2 separate regions of the Homo sapiens genome follow, and region 1 is linked to region 2. Evidence: promoter capture Hi-C in 16 types of primary human blood cells and fetal thymus (Javierre and others, 2016). All regions are on one chromosome and are shown on one strand. Each heading gives the region's core, a stretch centred on a gene start or on the middle of the fragment in contact. The rest is flanking DNA. Distances are from core to core; before and after follow the strand shown.

Region 1 (3,747 bases), core at 859-3,358, 220 kb after region 2:
GCCAGGCCTCACTCCTCTCCAGGGCCATCTGATGGCTTTCAGGATGGATTTTTTTGTTTTGAGATGGAGTCTCACTCTCTTGCCCAGGCTGGAGTGCAGTGGCGCCATCTTGGCTCACTGCAAGCTCTGCCTCCCGGGTTCACACCATTCTCCTGCCTCAGCCTCCCGAGTAGCTGGGACTACAGGCGCCCACCACCACGCCCGGCTAATTTTTTGTATTTTTAGTAGAGACGGGGTTTCACCGTGTTAGCCAGGATGGTCTGGATCTCCTGACCTCATGATCCGCCCGCCTCGGCCTCCCAAAGTGGTGGGATTACAGGCGTCAGCCACCGTGCCCTGCCAGGATGGATTTTTTAAAGAAAGAAAAACTAAAATTTTTATTCTCCCTGCATGATAAACAAACAACAATTATTCTTCCTCAGAAACAACAGTTTAAGAAAAAAAAAGCAATGAGGTCCCAAAACACTCTCCCAAAGTGCAGATCATGGGATGGTAAGAGAATGTTTCTGTACCCGAAAATAGTGTTTCTGTCATTCAGGCAAGATTCTAGCTTTGCCTTTTCCCTACTTCCCATTTTCTACCTCAGAAACAGAAATTGGAATATGAGAGGGTGGAGAATCGCTTTAGAGGAACTGAAACAGAGTTTGTAAGTTGAATGGTTTCTAGCCCATGTGTAAACCTGGGTGCGGTGTGAGAGGAGCTCTGCACGACTCCACGGAAGGGAACCCAGTGAGTTGTAGCTATAGTTTCTTAATTGATTTAGAGGTGACAGCGTAAACAATGGCTCTAAAAAAAGGTGAAACTCCATTTACCAAAACCAAATTTGACACTAGCTCCCAAAGCTAACTTGTTAATACAGATTTATCTTAGGCTAGTGAAGTGGCACTAAATTTGAAACTGAGAGTCTTGGGTGCTGTCTTTTATCTGTCTTGTGGCTTACTGAATGGTCACAAATAAGTCAAGTGACCTCTTCATGTTCCAGTTCCTTTTCAGTAATGGGACTAACCATAGGAAAAAATAGTATTGGCCTAAAATGCTGATCTCTTTCCTTTGACCCTGAAAACTCCAAGGAACTCCAGTTAGGGCTTCCTCAACCTAGTAAGATTTGTAAGTTGGTAGAATCTTACTTATCACCCCTGACTTTCTTCCTTCTTCCTCCTTAGTGAAATAGACAGCAAGTTAGAGCAAATGGAGCAATATTTAGTGCTAAAGCTTTAGAGCCAGGGGAGGGTAATCACCAACACGGGCCAAGCCGTAATGACTTGGTACACCCAGAGAAGGCTGGGCTGCAGCCAGGCAGATAACCTAAGGGACTGCTGCTGTTCTCTCCCGGCACACACACGTGCTCATCACTCAGCGCCTGGCAAGATCAGGGCTGGAGTGACACAGGCATGCATCCAATACCTGATCCAGAAATAGGCCCTGGCTGCAGGCACAGCAAGTAAACAAACGTCCCGCCAGCTGTGGCCGAGGTGCACCCTTCCAAGCAGACCTGCCCACCAGGACCATTGCTGGAAGACGGAAGCCCTGGAGCCTCTCCCTGGCCCTGTTTTGGAAGGAGTCCTCCAAGGCTGAGAACAGCCCCAGCCACATGAAGCAGGCAAGGTTTTCTTGAAAATTCTAAATTATCCCAACCAGCTTTGGCCCTACGTCAGTTATAAGACTCAAGATAGGATACTGCCATTGGGATGTTAGGTTTGTGCGAGGGCTGTTTACTTGAGCCCAGAAATAGGTTATTTAAGGCAGAGATTCATTCATCTAACCAATATTTGTTGAGCCCCTGCCATGTTCCAGGCATGGTGCATGGTGTTAAATAAAGCAGAACGGCATCTTCCCACATAGAATGATGGAGGGGGGAGTAGAGCCTACCTCATTAATTCTGTGGAAGTTGTAAGCACAAGGTGCTTTGAGAGCACATGGGAAGGAGATATGAGAGCCCTAGACCAGTTGGAGTGGGGTAGGAGAGAGGCCGTGTTAGGGGAGCTGAGTCCATAGAAATGAATAGGAGTGAGAGGAAATAGAAGAGTAAGAGCATGGGGACCAAGAGGAGTCCTGGAAGAGGAAAACAGCATGTGCAAAGCCCTAAAAGCAAAAGGGAACTTGGAGGATGGAAGGTAGTTCAGTGTAGCTGGAGCACAAAGAACAAAGGAGGGACAGACGAGAGGTGAGGGTGGAAATTACTAAACAAGGCCAGGTGTGAAGGATTTTATAAACCATGTTAAGGAGTTTGGAGTTTATTGTGGGAGAACAGGGAGCTAATGGCTGATTTTAAGAGGGGCAGTGACAAGATGAGATTTACATCTAGAAGGTTATGGCTGCCATGGGTTTGCCATAATTAAAGTGATTGAGGGTGGACAAGTTATTCACACTTGGCAGCGATACATGTCTATGTGAAATGGTTTTTCTTTGTTTTTATTTTCTACTTCAATTTTTCTTGTTATTTTTTCACTATTACAGAACAAGTAGAATCATGTATGGCAGATTGTATTTTCCAAAGATGGCCAAATCAGTGTATCCCATCCCACTCATTCATGTTCCAGTGTGATGTGGACACTCCTCCCCTGAGATCTTCAGTCAATATTCCCTCCCTTTGAACCTGGGCAGACCTATGTAACTGCCTTGCTAATAGAGTACAGCATAAATAATGGGACTTCTGAGGCAAGGTCATGAAAGCACTCCACCTGGGGTCTCTCTCTCTCTCTCTCAGCATGCTCCTTGGTAGTTCTGAGCCGGCATGTAAGAAGTCGGCCACAGAGAGGTAGAGAAGCCCAGGGAGTCCCAGCTGTTTGAGTCTTCCCACCCCAGGCATCAGACATATAAGTAAGTAATTCAAATGATTTCATCCCCCAGTTTTTAAGCTGTCCCAGGTGACACCAAGTGGTACAGAGACAAGCTGTCCCTGCAAAGCCCTACAGATTCAATAAATGTCATGGTTTAAACCACTAAGTTTTGGGTTGATTTGTTACTCAGCAATAGATAACCAATGCACCATAAGCTAAGCTTCAGGTTTTAAGTAGCTAATTTTTAAGTATTTTATTTTGCAGCCCCCTCTAGTCTGCGATGGTTGCAGAATTTAATACTTATGCTGGCTACAGTAGGGAGAGGGGCAAAATTGGACACAGGAGACCAGCTGTGAGGTGGTTGCAGTTGTCTAAGAAAGAGATGATAGTACTTGAGGACTTTTTCCACTTAGGATGTAGAATACTGCAAGAAAATGTCCCTTCCGTCCTAACAATGTGAAAAAGCAGGTACAAAATCATAACTTTTCTTGAGCCCATCAGAAAGCCAAGGCCACAAGGCAACCAAATAAAGGAGAGATAGTGTTAGGGGAGCTGAGTTCATAGAAATGAATAGGAGTGAGAGGAAATAGAAGGAGAGATAGTGACCCATCAACTGTTTCAACTTTGGCAAAGATGTGGCTGTCTTACAAGTGGGTAAGAAAAAGACAATAAAAATGTTAACAAATTTGTAAAGTCCACATGTGGCCTAGCATATCAGTTTAGAATAGCTGAATAGGATTCTAGACACGAGAGTGCGTGCAAAGGCAACCTTTTTTGTACAGGCCTCCCCTGGGGTTCATGGAGAAAAGTGGGAACAGGTCAGGAAAGGGAGGGACTGTTCTTCCTTGGTGATGCATGCATGCAGAGGTTGATCAAGGCGGCTGCTGGTGGAAGGCAAAAAGCCTCAACTTCCACAATCCTCTCCTTTAAGCAAAAGCCTTAAGCCATGGCGGGAGGGGTAACAAAC
Region 2 (3,822 bases), core at 548-3,047:
GTCTAGACAGCGCTGTCCATTAGAACTTTGTGCAGCGATGTTTACGTCCATTCTGCACTGACCAGTGTGGTAGCCATTAATCATGTGTGGCCACCGGGCATTTGGAATGTGGAATCTGGAATAACGGTGCAGCTGAGGAACTGAACTGTTAATTTTATTTATTTCAATTCAGTGTCATGCAGTGAGTGGCCACCAGATTAGACAGGGTCAGGCCTTCTCCCCTTTCTTCCTGGGCCTTCCCACTTTCCTCTTCTGCCTGGGTTGGACTGCCTTTACCCAAGCTTGTCCTGTGACCTCTCTCTGTTGACAGTGGCTTCCAAAGAGGCTGGCATGGGGCACTCATCTCTTCTGCTCAGTCTGTGTCCTCCCACTCCCTGATCTGACCCCGTGCCACCTTCTGGCTCTGCCAGCCTCTACCTGGTTCCTGTAGTGCCGCACAGAGCCTCCCTTTCCCGGCACAGCCTCCCTTTCCCGGCATAGCCAGCTTTCTTCAGGGTCCTGCCAGGAAGGGCCGCCCCCCCAACATTTCCAGATTGCCTCTGTCCCTCCACTCTGGGGTGCCTGGAAGGACTGTCCAGGACCCAGAGAGCAGGCAGAGCCCTGGATTCCTATCCTGGAATCCTCCCCCAGGATGAAGAAGCTCTGCCTGCCTGAACCCTCCAGCGATGGGCCTGGAGTCCTGTCCCTGTCCTTTCCTTAATCCCCAGCCTCTGGATCTTCCAGTCACCCCGGCTTTGCCCACCCTCACCCCATTTAGAAGCTGGGCTCGCTAGGAAACTGCTCCCTTAGCATCTGCAGAACTTCCTCAAGAAGTGAAATCCCCAGGTCCACTTTGAAGGAGAGGAAGGGATCACTGAGGTCTGGGGTAGGTGTCCTCTGGAAGCAGGGAGTGTCCACAAGGCCCTTCTCTGAGTGCTGGTGGAGGGCACTCGACAGAGAGAGCGCCGATGGCAGGGTGGCAGAGTAGGCTGCTGTGTAGGCAGGTGGGGGCTCCAGGATGTTGGGGCAGCTTGAGCTCTCTCGGTAGAGGCGTGGGGGCTTGGGTGGGGCCAGCAGGGTGGCCCGGGGCTGCTCGTCCCCCCACAGTGGCAGGCGCCGGCCATCTGGCCTCCCTTGTAGCTCCCGGATGACTTCTCGGTTGCTGTACTCCTCGTGGTCCCCACCTGCTGTGCTGGCCTGGCTAAGCACACTACTCTGTCGCCGGAGCCGCCGTGGCCGCCCCAGGCTCAGCTGCTTGAAGAAGGAGGCGTTGCGGAAGGAGCCTTTCCGCCAGGTCTCCATGGGGCCCAGGGGAGCCAGCAGACAGGTGTTCAGGAGCAGCCAGGGTGCATGTGGTCCCTGCTGGGGCAGTGAGTGCCAGCAGCTGGGGAGGCTCCCCTAGGAGCAGAGGCCTCAGGGTTTCCACTCAGCACAGACCTTTGACCACATCTTGGATGGTGAGAGGAGGGCTCAGGAAGAAGGAACTTTTTTGCCCAGGAGAGCAGACAGCTGGGAGTTCCTGGCAGCAAGAGTTTCCCACAGGGACAGGAGTGGCCTGGTTACTGAATAGGGTAGTGGAAAAAAACCCAGGAGGAAGAAGCAGCACTTACTGGAGCCAGAATGAGGGCAGCTCCGGCGGAGGCAGAGGTGGACCTTCTCGGGCTGGGTGAGGCTGGCGAGCGCTCCTTCCACAGGCAGGCAGCAGATGGCCCGAGCTCACTCGCCCTGGTGTTTGCCTGGCTCCTATATGTCTCTGGGGCAGTGTGGGGCCGTGCCCTCTCTGCCAGTGGCTCCCGGACTCTGATGAGTGGCCTGGCTGTTTGTGGCGGTGGAGATGTGTTTTTGTTCTCAGCTGACTCAGTCAGGTGGGAAGCCAGGTTTCGTGCTCTTGGGTAATTGCAGCATCCGCGTGCAGGGATGGGGCAGCTGGGACCAACACCCCAGGGCAATGGGGAGCTTAAGATTCCTCTGGGGACTCGTGTGGGGGCAGCCCTGCTTTATGTGTCACCACGCGGCTTCCTTTCTGATCACAGCCCCACCACCCTGGGCCCCCAGCAGGTGCGCCTGGCTCCCTGCCCACAGTGTCTGGGTAGGAAGAGTTCGGGGCGGGTGGGAGTTAATTGAAAGGCAGGCGTGTGGAACGATTGTTGGGGAAGGAAGAGACCTGTAGCTGGTATGGGTGACTCAGCCCCGCTGTCAGGCCCTCACGAGCAGGAACAGGAAGGGGGGCAGAGGGTGTGTTAATGGGGAGCAGCGCCATGCCTGTGATGGGCGGGCTCTGCTGCCCAGGGTTGGGCTGGGGGCCCGCCAAGGGTGGCTCCAAGTTTTCTTGGCAGAGCAGCATTAACCTGGGGATGGGAGATGTGGCCTCCTCTTGGCCTGCCATCAGCCTGGCTGCTATTTCCTTGTCCTCCCTTGTTTTACCCTAGAGGGCTCCTGCCAGGAGAGCGGCTGCTGAAGGCCGGGCCGTGTTGCCTCCTACCTGGCTGTGCTCCAGCCCTTCCCCTCTGGCTACCGGGCTTCCTCTGGGGTCCTCCTTCTCTTGCAGGAGGCTGGGCCAGGGAGGCTGCCGTGAATTGTCAGCCGTGCTCTGGGCCAGGCTTAGCAGTCCGGCCTAGCTGGGACTGCTGCAGCCGGGGAGAGGGGAGGGGTGCAGCCATCGGGAGGAACAGGGGAACCCAGGCTGAGTAACACTTCCTGTTTCTCTACACCCCTTACTCCAAACCTGCTGGCCAGGGCCTGGCATCTCAACCCTAGCTGCTCCCTTCCTATTCCCCGGGTCACTGACCACCACATTTTCCTCCTGCCTTGCTCTGTGACAGCGTCCCCATGCGGGGTACCGCGGATCAGGGCCCCACAGCTCTCTGCTACGGGCAGGCCACCGCATCTTGCAATCCCTGGCCTAGCTCACTTCTGTGCCAACTCAGGTGTGCTTCACACTTCTCTGAGAAGCTGTTGGGACCACATGATCATCACACAGCCTAAGCGGCACCGAGGGAGGAAAAGGTTTAATTCCCACCGCAGACCTTATCAGGGCGTGGGTTGGCAGCTTAGGTCCCGCTGTAGAGCTGCTTCTCCACCCTACAGCCTTGGCCCATTCAGATGGTTGTTTATTATTCTTTTGATTATGGGCCCTGCCCTCCAGGAGCCCTGGTGTGTAGTTTTAGAGGCACGCTGGCCTCATGCTTGCCTTTTTCCCCTTCGAGGGTGGGGCATTCCGGGCTGCCTCGGGTAGGGCTCCCTTCTGCATCCTCAGCAAGAGCCAGACCACAGGGCACCGGGCATAGAGAGTGCCAGGGTCAGTGCCCAGCAGAGCCAAGTGCATCCCTGCTCCTCAGACAACTTCCCTTCCTTGGGAACCTAAGAGGCAGAAGCTACGGGGTAGAGGGAAAGGGGTGAAGGGTAAAGGGCCCAGAGGAAATGAAGGGAGACGAGGGCCTGGCTTAGAGGGCCCGCAGGTGATTCCTGAGAAACAGATGGACCGGAGCTGACGCGGCCTGGGGAAAGGGAGGGGGAGCTGGCTGGGTAGAAGCCGGCCTGGAGGCCAAAGGTGGCGTGTTCTGGGGGACACAGGCGAGCCAGGATTCCAAAAGGATGCTCCGGGTTCCTTCCCTTCCTCTGCCGTCCTCCCTCCGAGACTCTTAGAACGCAGCACTGCCTCGGCACCGTACTCGGAGTCTGTGAGGCTGTGCCCTGCTGTCCCTGACCCCTCCCTGTCCCTGCCCTGTCCGACAGGGCTCAGTGCTGTCAGAGAGGGACTACGAGAGCCTCGTCATGATGCGCATGCGCCAGGCGGCCGAGCGGCAACAGCTGATCGCACGGATGCAGCAGGAAGACCAGGAG

What was found. The method cuts DNA at HindIII sites, captures the fragments that hold promoters and counts their contacts. A CHiCAGO score of 5 or more calls a contact.
Region 1: a fragment that was not itself captured here is called in contact with the fragment with the promoter of C15orf62 in region 2 in 2 of 17 cell types (naive B cells and total B cells); the score reaches 6.6 in naive B cells.

The regions. Positions count from the first base shown.
Region 1 is chr15:40,547,695-40,551,441 of GRCh38, reverse strand. It overlaps a transcript of CCDC32 not described here. Among named protein-coding and RNA genes, the nearest start is that of CCDC32, 15 kb to the left of the region's middle. The HindIII fragment of the contact is 1,788 bases long and covers 1,215-3,002 here.
Region 2 is chr15:40,767,955-40,771,776 of GRCh38, reverse strand. C15orf62 (chromosome 15 open reading frame 62) reads right to left here and starts at 1,797. Exons shown (of 1, transcript NM_001130448.3): 1 at 1-1,797. The coding sequence starts at 1,281. The coding sequence ends at 754. DNAJC17 (DnaJ heat shock protein family (Hsp40) member C17) reads left to right here. Exons shown (of 11, transcript NM_018163.3): 11 at 3,715-3,822. RefSeq lists enhancers at 664-1,280, 1,238-1,327, 1,281-1,899, 2,518-3,136. The HindIII fragment of the contact is 5,370 bases long and covers 284-3,822 here.